Linked DNA regions of Homo sapiens: regions 1, 2 and 4 are each linked to region 3. Evidence: promoter capture Hi-C in human tissues and cell types (Jung and others, 2019). All regions are on one chromosome and are shown on one strand. Each heading gives the region's core, a stretch centred on a gene start or on the middle of the fragment in contact. The rest is flanking DNA. Distances are from core to core; before and after follow the strand shown.

Region 1 (2,700 bases), core at 178-2,677, 64 kb before region 3:
GGAAGGAGCAAGAAGGGAGAAGGCTTCTAGGGTCCTACTAATGTAATGTTTCTTGATCTGAATGCTGGTTTTCCAGATGTGTTCACTTCATAAAAAAAATAAATAAAATCCACTACACTGTATTCTTACATTATACATACATTTGTGTATGTCATAGTTTAATAAAAAGCTTACTTAAGTTTGAGTCCACAAATGGCATTGAGAAAACTGGATATTCACATGCAAAATAATGGAGCTGGTCCTTTACCTTACACCATATACAAAAATTAGTTTAAAATGAACAAAAGACCTAAACATAATAGCTGAAACTATAAAACTCCTAGAAGAAAACATAAGTGAAAACCCTCACGGCATTGGATTTGGCAACAACAATGATGTCAAAAACGCAAGCAACCAAAGAATAAGTAAATAAATTTGACTCCATCAAAGCTGAAAACGTTTGTGCATAAGAGAACAATACCAAGAGAGTGGAAGGCAATCCACCGAATGGGAGAAAATATTTGCAAATCATGTATCTCATAAGGGATTAATATCCAGAATATATAAAGAACTCATAATCTCAACAACAAAATACAAATGACTCAGTTGAAAAATGGGCAAAGAACTTGAACAGACATTTCTCCAAAGAGGATATTCTAATAGCCAATAATCATGAAAAAATACAAATCAAAACCACAATGAGATACCACTTTACACATAGGATGGCTAATATAAAAAAGAAAAAAAAAAACGGAAAACAAAAAGTGTTGATAAAGATGTGGAGAAGTGAATACCCTGTGCATTGCAAGTGGGAATGTAAAATGGTACAGCCACTATAGAAAACGGTATGGTGGTTCCTAAAATAATAAAGCATAGAGTTACCATATGACATAGCAATTTCACTTCTAGGTATAAACTGAAAAGAAGTGAAAGCAGGGACCCAAACAGAAATTAGTGCACCAATGTAAATGGCAACATTATTCACAATAGCCAAAGAGTAGAAACAACCTACATGTCCATTATGGATGAATCGATAAAGAAAATGTAGTATAAACATACAATGGAATATTATTCAGCCTTAAAAAATGAAATTCTAGGCCAGGCACAGTGGCTCATGCCTGAAATCCCAGCACTTTGGGAGGCTAAAGCGGACAGATCACCTGAGGTCAGGAGTTCAAGACCAGCCTAGCCAACATGGTGAAACCCCATCTCTCCTAAAAATATTTTTAAAAATTAGCCAAGTGTGGTGGCACGCACCTGTAATCCCAGCTACTCAAGAGGCTGAGGCAGAAGAATCACTTGAACGAGGGAGGCGGAGGTTGCAGTGAGCCAAAATCACGCCACTGCACTCCAGCCTGGGAGATGCAGCGAGACTCCATCTCGAAAAAAGCGCATACTACAACATAAATGAATCTTGAAAACATTATGCTAAGCAAAATAAGCCAGATACTAAAGAACAAATATTGTATTATTCCACTTATATGAGGTACCTAGAATTGTCAAATTCATAAAGACGGAAAGTAGAATGGTAGCTACCAGGGTCTGGGGGAGAAGGCAATGGGGATTGATTGTTTACTGAATACAGAATTGCAGTTTGGGATGACAAAAAAGTTCTGGAGGTGGATGGTAGTGGTGGCTGCACAACAATGTGAATGTGCTTAATGCCACTGAGTGATCACTGAAAATGGTTAAGTAAATTTTGTATTATGTATATTATACCGCAATTTTTAAATGTGGATTTTTTATTTTTTTTTTTGAGATGGAGTCTCGCTCTGTCGCCCAGGCTGGAGTGCAGTGGCGTGATCTCGGCTCACTGCAAGCTCCGCCTCCCGGGTTCACGCCATTCTCCTGCCTCAGCCTCCCGAGTAGCTGGGACCACAGGCGCCTGCCACCACCCCCGGCTAATTTTTTGTATTTTTAGTAGAGACGGGGTTTCACCATGTTAGCCAGGATGGTCTCAATCTCCTGACCTCGTGATCCGCCCGCCTCAGCCTCCCAAAGTGCTGGGATTACAGGCGTGAGCAACCGCGCCCAGCCTAAATGTTGATTTTTTTAAGAGACAGGGTCTCAATATGTTGCCCATGCTGGTCTCAAACTCCTGGCCTCAAGCAATCCTCCTGCCTCAGCCCCACAAAGTGCTGGGATGACAGGCATGAGCCACCACTCAAGTCAAAAGTTGATTTCTTTATAAAAAGTTTATTGTGCTTATATTATTTTCTGGGTATTATACTAATAGCTGCTACTATAAGTGAATTTCCCCCTGCCAAGAAGGAAAGACAGGTGGGTTTAAATTTTTTTGCTTCTCTCCCTTCTCACTGCTAGTAATTACTCAAAATGTGGTCACTCTCAGCATTCTCTGCCAAATCTTTTAAAATCTGGAGCACCTAGCCACTTAAAAGACACAACCAAAGATCCCAACACATCATGATCATTTCACCTCAAAGTAATTACCTCCTCTTCTACAAACCCAATCTCCTCATCTTTATGAGCTGAATCTTTTGGCTGAGTTTAGATCTATAAATTAATGCATTCACTTAGAACAGTCCATTCCACAGAAGGCTCTCAATAAATTATAAATATTTACCTTTAGTCATTCAAAATTTATTGAGAGCCTATTATGATAAAAGGAGATGGTAAATATTCTCATGGTAGCTAAGAAAACTTCCATATCACATGCTCTATCTTCTGATCTAGAGGAAAAATAAAAAGTGGTTGATGAGA
Region 2 (2,700 bases), core at 34-2,533, 35 kb before region 3:
TCCATTTACTTGTGTCCTCTCTTATTTCCTTGAGCAGTGGTTTGTAGTTCTCCTTGAAGAGATCCTTCACATCCCTTGTAAGTTGTATTCCTAGGTATTTTCTTCTCTTACTAGCAATTGTGAATAAGAGTTCACTCATGATTTGGCTCTGTTTGTCTGTTATTGTTGTATAGGAATGCTTGTGATTTTTGCACATTGATTTTTTATCCTGAGACTTTACTGAAGTTGCTTATCAGCTTAAGGAGATTTTGGGCTGAGATCATGGGGTTTTCTAAATACACAATCATGTTATCTGCAAACAGGGACAATTTGACTTCCTCTTTTCCTATTTGAATAGCCTTTATTTCTTTCTCTTTCCTCATTGCCCTGGCCAGAACTTCCAATACTATGTTGAATAGGAGTGGTGAGATAGGGCATCCTTGTCTTGTGCCAGTTTTCAAAGGAAATGTTCCAGTTTTTGCCCATTCAGTATGATATTGGCTGTGGGTTTGTCATACATAGCTCTTATTATTTTGATATATGTTCCATCGATACCTAGTTTATTGAAAGTTTTTAGCATGAAGGCAAGTTGAATTTTGTCCAAGGCCTTTTCTGCATCTATTGAGATAATCATGTGGTTTTTGTCATTGGTTCTGTTTATGTGATGGATTACATTTATTGATTTGCATATGTTGAACCAGCCTTGCATCCCAGATATGAAGCCGACTTGATCGTGGTGGATAAGCTTTTCGATGTGCTGCAGGATTCGTTTTGCCAGTATTTTATTGAGGATTTTTGCATCAATGTTCATCAGGGATATTGGAATGAAAATTTCTTTTTCTGTTTTGTCTCTGCCAGGTTTTGGTATCGGAATGATGCTGGCCTCATAAAATGAGTTAGGGAGGATTCTCTCTTTTTCTATTGATTGGAATCGTTTCAGAAGGAATGGTACCAGCTCCTCCTTGTACCTCTGGTAGAATTCAGCTGTGAATCCGTCTGGTCCTGGACTTTTTTTGGTTGGTAGGCTATTAATTACTGCCTCAATTTCAGAATTTGTTATTGGTCTCTTTAGGGATTCGACTTCTTCCTGGTTTAGTCTTGGGAGGGTGTATATGTGCAGGAATTTATCCATCTCTTCTAGATTTTCTAGTTTATTTGCGTAGAGGTGTTCATGATATTCTCTGATGGCAGTTTGTATTTCTGTGGGATCAGTGGTGATATTCCCTATATCATTTTTATTGTGTCTATTTGATTCTTCTCTCTTGTCTTCTTTATTAGTCTGGCTAGCAGTCTATCTATTTTGTTGATCTTTTCAAAAAACCAACTCCTGGATTCATTGATTTTTTGAAGGGTTTTTCGTGTCTCTATCTCCTTCAGTTCTGCTCTAATCTTCATTATTTCTTGTCTTCTGCTACCTTTTGAATTTGTTTGCTCTTGCTTCTCTAGTTCTTTTAATTTTGATGTTAGGGTGTCAATTTTAGATCTTTTCTGCTTTCCCTTGTGGGCATTTAGTGCTATACATTTCCCTCTACACACTGCTTTAAATGTGTCCCAGAGATTCTGGTACATTGTGTTGTTGTTCTCATTGGTTTCAAAGAACATCTTTATTTCTGCCTTCATTTCATTATTTACCCAGTAGTCATTCGGGAGCAGGTTGTTCAGTTTCCATGTAGTTGTGCGGTTTTAAGTGAGTTTCTTAATCCTGAGTTCTAATTTGATTGCACTGTGGTCTGAGAGACAGTTTATTATGCTTCCCATTCTTTTGCATTTGCTAAGGAATGTTTTACTTCCAATTATACGGTCAATTTTAGAATAAGTGCGACGAGGTGCTGAGAATAATGTATATTCTGTTGATTTGGGGTGGAGAGTTCTGTAGATGTCTATTAGGTCCACTTGGTCCAGAGCTGAGTTCAAGTCCTGAATATCCTTGTTAATTTTCTGTCTTGTTGATCTGTCTAATATTGACAGTGAGGTGTTAAAGTCTCCCACTATTATTGTGTGGGAGTCTAAGTCTCTTCATAGATCTCTAAGAACTTGCTTTATGCATCTGGGTGCTACTGTATGGGGTGCATATATATTTAGGATACTTAGCTCTTCTTGTTGCATTGATCCCTTTACCATTATGTAATGGCCTTCTTTGTCTCTTTTGATCTTTGTTGGTTTAAAGTCTGTTTTACCAGAGATTAGGATTGCAACTCCTGCTTTTTTTATTTTTAATTTTTTTTCTTTCCATTTGCTTGGTAAATATTACTCCATCCCTTTATTTGGAGCCTATGTGTGTCTTTGCACATGAGATGGGCCTCCTGAATACAGCACACTGATGGGTCTTGACTCTTTATCCAATTTGCCAGCCTGTGTCTTTTAATTGGGGCATTTAGCCCATTTACATTTAAGGTTAATATTCTTATGTGTGAATTTGATTCTTTCACTATGATGCTAGCTGGTTATTTTGCCCATTAGTTGAAGCAGTTTCTTCATAGTGTCAATGGTCTATACAATTTGTTATGTTTTTGCTGTGGTTGGTACCGGTTGTTCCTTTCCATGTTTAGTGCTTCCTTCAGGAGCTCTTGCCAGGCAGGCCTGGTGGTGACAAAATCTCTCAGCATTTGCTTGTCTGTAAAGGATTTTATTTCTCCTGCACTTATGAAGCTTAGTTAGGCTGGATATGAAATTCTGGGTTCAAAATTCTTCTCTTTAAGAATGTTGAATATTGGCCTCCAC
Region 3 (2,700 bases), core at 7-2,506:
AGCTCCAACAGAAGGATCCAGGAGATGGGCCACCAGCAAGTCATAGTGGAGTCCAAACAAGTGTGAAGTGAGAGCGAGTCTTCAGCATGGGAATGGCCGAGTGGGTCGTGGTGACCAGCTGCCTTCCTCTGACTGTTAAGTACAGCAGTCTCAACAGTAACAATGACCAGGCCTTCCCTTTATTTAGTTCCACCTCGGGGCATTGGCGCATTAAGAATGTCCCTCTAAAGGCATATGTAAGATAAAGCACACTTCGCACTTTAACCAGTGACTAAGGGAGATCAAAAGCAGGGGACAATACCCACCCGGAATTTGCGACCTCGCGAAAACGCTCTCACCAATCCCGCAGGTAAGTGCGGCGCTGGCCCAGGTGTGCCCAGCTCGACTCGCGTCCACCTGGGACCAAGCGGGCCCAAGAAGGCCCGGAGAGCAGGCGAGGGCGACTGTGGCCGGCGCGCCCCCCGCAGTTCCAGGCGGTGGCAGGAGCCTGAGAGCCGCCGTCCCAGGCTGGCCAGGCGCCCGCCCGCCCTGCGCGCACTCCCTGGGCTCCCGCTCCCGAGGCTGGGCAGAACTCGCAGAGGAAGACAAGGGCAGAAAGCGGGTGGAGGGAGGCAGCGCTCGCCCGTCCGGGCACACGACACTTGTCGGCTGAGGGGGACACGCGGGCAGACGGGGGCGTTAGCCCCAGAGGAAACAAAAGCCAAATGCCCACCGCCGGGCGCTCGATGGCCGGAGGACTGCCTGGGGGCCCTCAGGAGTCCCGTCCCGTCCCGCTCCCCCGGTCCCAGGCTGCGCTGGCTCCAGGGCGCCCAGGTAGCCGCGCCTGGCACCCCGACCCTGCCCTCGCGGCTGACCGAGGCGCCGGGCTCTGCGGCGGCCGCGCCCGTCCAAAGTAGGCGACAAGTGAGGCAGCGCCTCTCGCGGGGAGCCCGGCGCGCGCCCCGGCGGCGAAAGAGAAAGAGAAAGAGCCTGGGCCGGGACCGGGGCTATCCCCAACCGCCACCGCCCCCACCGGCCCGGCCCTCGCCGCGGGAGTCGTGCAGGCCCCTCTACCTGCCCGGGGATGGGGCCACCCCGCGCGGCGGCGGCCGTGGGCACCCACGCGGGCTCGCGACCATCCCACGCGGGCGGCGGCGTCCTTCTTACCCCCAGCGGAGCGGCGCCTGCCCGCAACGCCGACCGAGCTACAGGCGGGGGGCGAGTCGGAGCGCGAGGTTCCGCCAGCCCAGGCTGCGGCGCCGCTGCCCCGCGGTGCCCGGCGGGAGGGGCGCGAGGGTGCACGCGCGGGGTGGGGGCGCGGGAGCCGCCCCCTGCCCGCCCCGCGCGCATGCTCCCGCCGCACCTGCCTCGCTCAGTGTTCCACACCCCGGGGAGCCGGGTGGCGCTGGGCCCGCCGAGGTCGGGGCTTTCCCATGGGAGGGAGGTGGCTGCGGCGGAATTTTCAGATGCGTCCTTCTCTGTATTCGTTCCCTGGGAAGGATTCCCCCAAATCTTGGCTACTTCCTGCCTGCCAGCTTGCTCCCTGGCAGCGAAGTCCCAGTAGCTCACCCATGCTTCATCCCAGCTCTTGGGGTTCACCGTCTGAAGGCTCTCTCCTCCGGATCCCTCTCGGTCCTGCTGCTCGCTCCGATTTTGCAACCTCCCCCACTCCCCTTTCCTGCTCTTGACTTTGCTACTCACGAGTACCTGGATACCATTTCCAAATAAAAGAATACTCTTTCCAAGTGGCAAGCAGTGTTTACTGACCCTGTTCTAACTGCTTGGAATTGAGCAGGAAACAGGAGCTGGGTAGATCCTGCCCTCATGGAACTTATGGCCTTACTGGCTAGCTTTGGCCTTTCTCAAAGCATTGTCTCCCAGTTTGGGAGGACTGTATTAAATCATTTATTTTGGCTTACAAATAAAGGTAGCTGATAATTGAAGACTATATGTTGTGACTTTTGAATGAAATGTTCTTTCATAGGACGCCTTGTGTATAAACCCTAGTATGCAAATAATAAATAGTAGGTACTAAATAAGTATTAGTTTGTTGCTTTCAGCAGGAAATTGAATCATTTAGCAGGATTAACAATGATACCATCCAAAATGATCTTTTTGGTTTGTCGTGGGCTACCATAAACAGAGAATGAAAACTTGCTTTTTAGGTGAGACTGGGCATTGTTGAAACATAATTTCGTGTCCTTACTGAAAAGAGAAATATAAACCCCTTTGCTAATGAAGTTTTTAAACTAGGAACAATGATCATAGAAATTTGTAAGTGCAAACACACGATTTGTGTTCTGTGCTCTAGTCAGTTAAGAAAAATATATTAGCCAGGTATGGCGGCTCACATCTGTAATCCCAGCACTTTGGGAGGCCGAAGAGGGCGGATCACTTGAGGTCAGGAGTTCGAGACCAGCCTGGCCAACATGGTGAAACCCTGTCTCTACTAAAAATACGAAATTAGCTGGGTGTGGTGGCGGGCGCCTGTAATCTCAACTACTCGGGAGGCTGAGACACTAGAATCGCTTGAACCTGGGAGGCAGAGGCTCCAGTGAGCTGAGATAGTACCACTGCACTCCAGCCTGGGCAACAGAGCGAAACTCCAACTCAAAAAAAAAAAAAAGAAGAAGAAAAAGAAAAACAAAAAGAAAAAGATATTAGAGACAAAGAGAAAAAGAAAGAAGTAGAAGACCTCAGTAGCGAGAGGAAAACATTTGA
Region 4 (2,700 bases), core at 201-2,700, 51 kb after region 3:
TTGTGTTCCACAGACCTCTTAGTCTTCATTCATTTTTCTTTATTCTTTCTCCTTCTGTACCTCAGGCTGCATAAGTTTCAATTAGCCTATCTTCAAGTTCTCTGATTCTTTATTTCTTCTGCTTATATTTTCCATTGAAACCCTTTAGTGAATTTTATTTCAGTTATTGTACTTTTCTGGCTGCGAATTTCTGTTTAGCTCTTGTTTGTAACTTCTTTCTCCTCATTAATTTTCACTATTTGCTCATGAATAACTCTTCTGTTCTCCTTTAGCTCCTTGAGCATATGTAAGACAGTTGATTTGTCTTTGTCTAGTGAATCCAACATCTGTACTTCTTCATGTAAAATTTCTGCAAATTTCTTCTGTGAAAGGGCCATATTTTCTTGTTCCTTTGCATGCTTCATAATTTTTACAGAAAATTGGCTATTCTGAATATTATAATGTAATAACTCTGGAAATCTTATGCTTCAGCTCTTCAGGGTTTGTTTTTCTGCCGGCTGTGGGATGTAGCTGTTCGTTTGTTTGGTAACTTTTTAATTGTGGTAAAATATACACAAAATAAAATTTATCATATTGATTATTTTATGTTTACAATTCAGTGACATTAAGTACATTCCTAATGTTGTGTAATTATCACTATTATTTTCAAACTTTTTCATAATCTCAAAGAGAAAGTATGTATCCAGTTAACAATAACTCCCCAATCCTCTCTCCAAACAGCCCCTAGTAACCTCTATTCTACCTTCTGTCTCTATGAATTTACATATTCTAGACTCCTCATATAAGTGGAATCATACATGGCATTGTATTTTCAAAGTTCATCCATGTCATAGTATGCATCAGAACCTCATTCCTTTTCATGATTGAATAATATTCCATTATATGTATATACCAGATTTTGTATATTCATTCATTCACCAATAGGCTTTTATTGCTTCCACCTTTTAGGTATTGTAAATAATGCTGCTATGTGGTGTGCAATATCTGTTCAAGTACAGTTTTTAATTCTTTTATGTATTTACCTAGGAGTGGAATTACTGGATTATATGATAATTCCATGATTAACTTATATGTGTTGTGCAATATCTGTTCAAGTCCATGTTTTCAATTTTTAATGTATTTTCATAGAACTGGAATTGCAGATTATATAATAATTCCATCTTTAACTTTTTGAGGAACGAACAGATTGTTTTTCATAGCACTGCACCATATTATATTTCCACCAATAATGCATGAGGCTTCCCATCTCTCTATATGCTGGCTAACATTTGTTATTTCCTATTTTAAAAAAAGTCATCATTATGAGTATGATGTGGTATCTCATGTGGTTTGGATTTACATCATCTTGGTTGGATTTACATCATCTTGATCACTAATGATGTTGAGCATCATTTCATGTGCTTATTGATCATGGATTGGTCTTCTAATCCATGAATATAGGATTTCTTTCCATCCATTTAACTCTTCTTTAATTTCTACCAGCAGTGGTTTTGTTTTGGTTTGGTTTGGTTTGGTTTTTGAGACAGAGTCCTGCTCTGTCACCCAAGATGGAGTTCAGTGGCATGATCTGGGCTCACTGCAACCTCTGCCTTCCAGGTTCAAGTGATTCTCCTGCCTCAGCCTCCGAGTAGCTAGGACTACAGGCACACGCCACTATGCCCAGATAATTTTTGTATTTTTATTAGAGAAGGGTTTTGCCATGTTGGCCAGGCTGGTCTTGAACTCCTGACCTCGGTGATCCGCCTTCCTCAGCCTTCCAAAGTGCTGGAATTGCAGGCATGAGCCACCGTTCCCGGCCAATCAGCAGTGTTTTCAGTGTTTTTAACACACACGTGTGTGTGTGTGTGTTTGCGTTTTGTGTTTTGTGTTTTTTTGGGTTAGTTTTGTTTTGTTTTGTTTTGTTTTTTGAGACAGAGTCTCACTCTGTAGTCCAGGCTGGAGTGCAGTGGCGCGATCTCGGCTCACTGCAAGCTCTGCCTCCCGAGTTCACGTCATTCTCCTGCCTCAGCCTCCCGAGTAGCTGGGACTACAGGCGCCCGCCACCACGCCCTGCTAATTTTTTTGTGTTTTTAGTAGAGACGGGGTTTCACCATGTTAGCCAGGATGGTCTCCATCTCCTGACCTCGCGACCCGCCCGTCTCAGCCTACGAAAGTGCTGAGATTACAGGCATGAGCCACTGCGCCCGGCCCACACAAGAGTTTTTAATGTTTTTATCTGTCTCGTTGGTTAAATTTACCCCCGGGTATTTTATTCTTTTTGATGCTTATTGTAAGTGAAATGGTTTTCTTAATTTCCTTTTAAAATTGTTAATTGCTAGTGTTTAGAAATACAACAGATTTTTGAGTATTGATTCTGTACCCTGTAACTTTGCTGAGTTCATTTAACTCTAATAGTTTTTTGTTTTTTTTTTTTTAACTTCGTATCATCTGTAAAGATAGATATTTTATTTCTTCCTTTCTGACACGGATGCCCCCAACCCATTTTCATTCACTCACCATTGAATTGGCTCACCATTAGCTGTGAGATTTACACATGATATTGATGAAATTCCTTTCGATTCCTAGTTTACTGTTTTTATCATGAGAGGGTGTTACATTTTGTCCAATTTTTTTGTACCTATTTATATTATTATGTTTTTTTTCCTTAACATGCTATGTTGCATTGATTGATTTTATCTTGAACAATTCTTGCATTCTGAG

The links. Contacts are between HindIII fragments. The study calls those that stand out against the background at their distance.
Region 1: a fragment that was not itself captured here is called in contact with the fragment with the promoter of L3MBTL4 in region 3 in 1 of the 25 tissues and cell types used here (mesenchymal stem cells).
Region 2: a fragment that was not itself captured here is called in contact with the fragment with the promoter of L3MBTL4 in region 3 in 1 of the 25 tissues and cell types used here (bladder).
Region 4: a contact is called between a fragment that was not itself captured here and the fragment with the promoter of L3MBTL4 in region 3, in 1 of the 25 tissues and cell types used here (bladder).

The regions. Positions count from the first base shown.
Region 1 is chr18:6,349,835-6,352,534 of GRCh38, forward strand. All of the region lies in intron 1 of L3MBTL4 (L3MBTL histone methyl-lysine binding protein 4), which reads right to left. Among named protein-coding and RNA genes, the nearest start is that of MIR4317, 23 kb to the right of the region's middle. The HindIII fragment of the contact is 5,033 bases long and covers 1-2,700 here.
Region 2 is chr18:6,378,965-6,381,664 of GRCh38, forward strand. All of the region lies in intron 1 of L3MBTL4 (L3MBTL histone methyl-lysine binding protein 4), which reads right to left. Among named protein-coding and RNA genes, the nearest start is that of MIR4317, 5.9 kb to the left of the region's middle. The HindIII fragment of the contact is 3,782 bases long and covers 1-2,700 here.
Region 3 is chr18:6,413,655-6,416,354 of GRCh38, forward strand. It overlaps L3MBTL4 (L3MBTL histone methyl-lysine binding protein 4), which reads right to left and starts at 1,257. Exons shown (of 19, transcript NM_001330559.2): 1 at 1,147-1,257. RefSeq lists a silencer at 760-1,299. The HindIII fragment of the contact is 7,728 bases long and covers 1-2,700 here.
Region 4 is chr18:6,464,402-6,467,101 of GRCh38, forward strand. No RefSeq gene overlaps it. Among named protein-coding and RNA genes, the nearest start is that of LINC01387, 46 kb to the right of the region's middle. The HindIII fragment of the contact is 4,008 bases long and covers 1-2,700 here.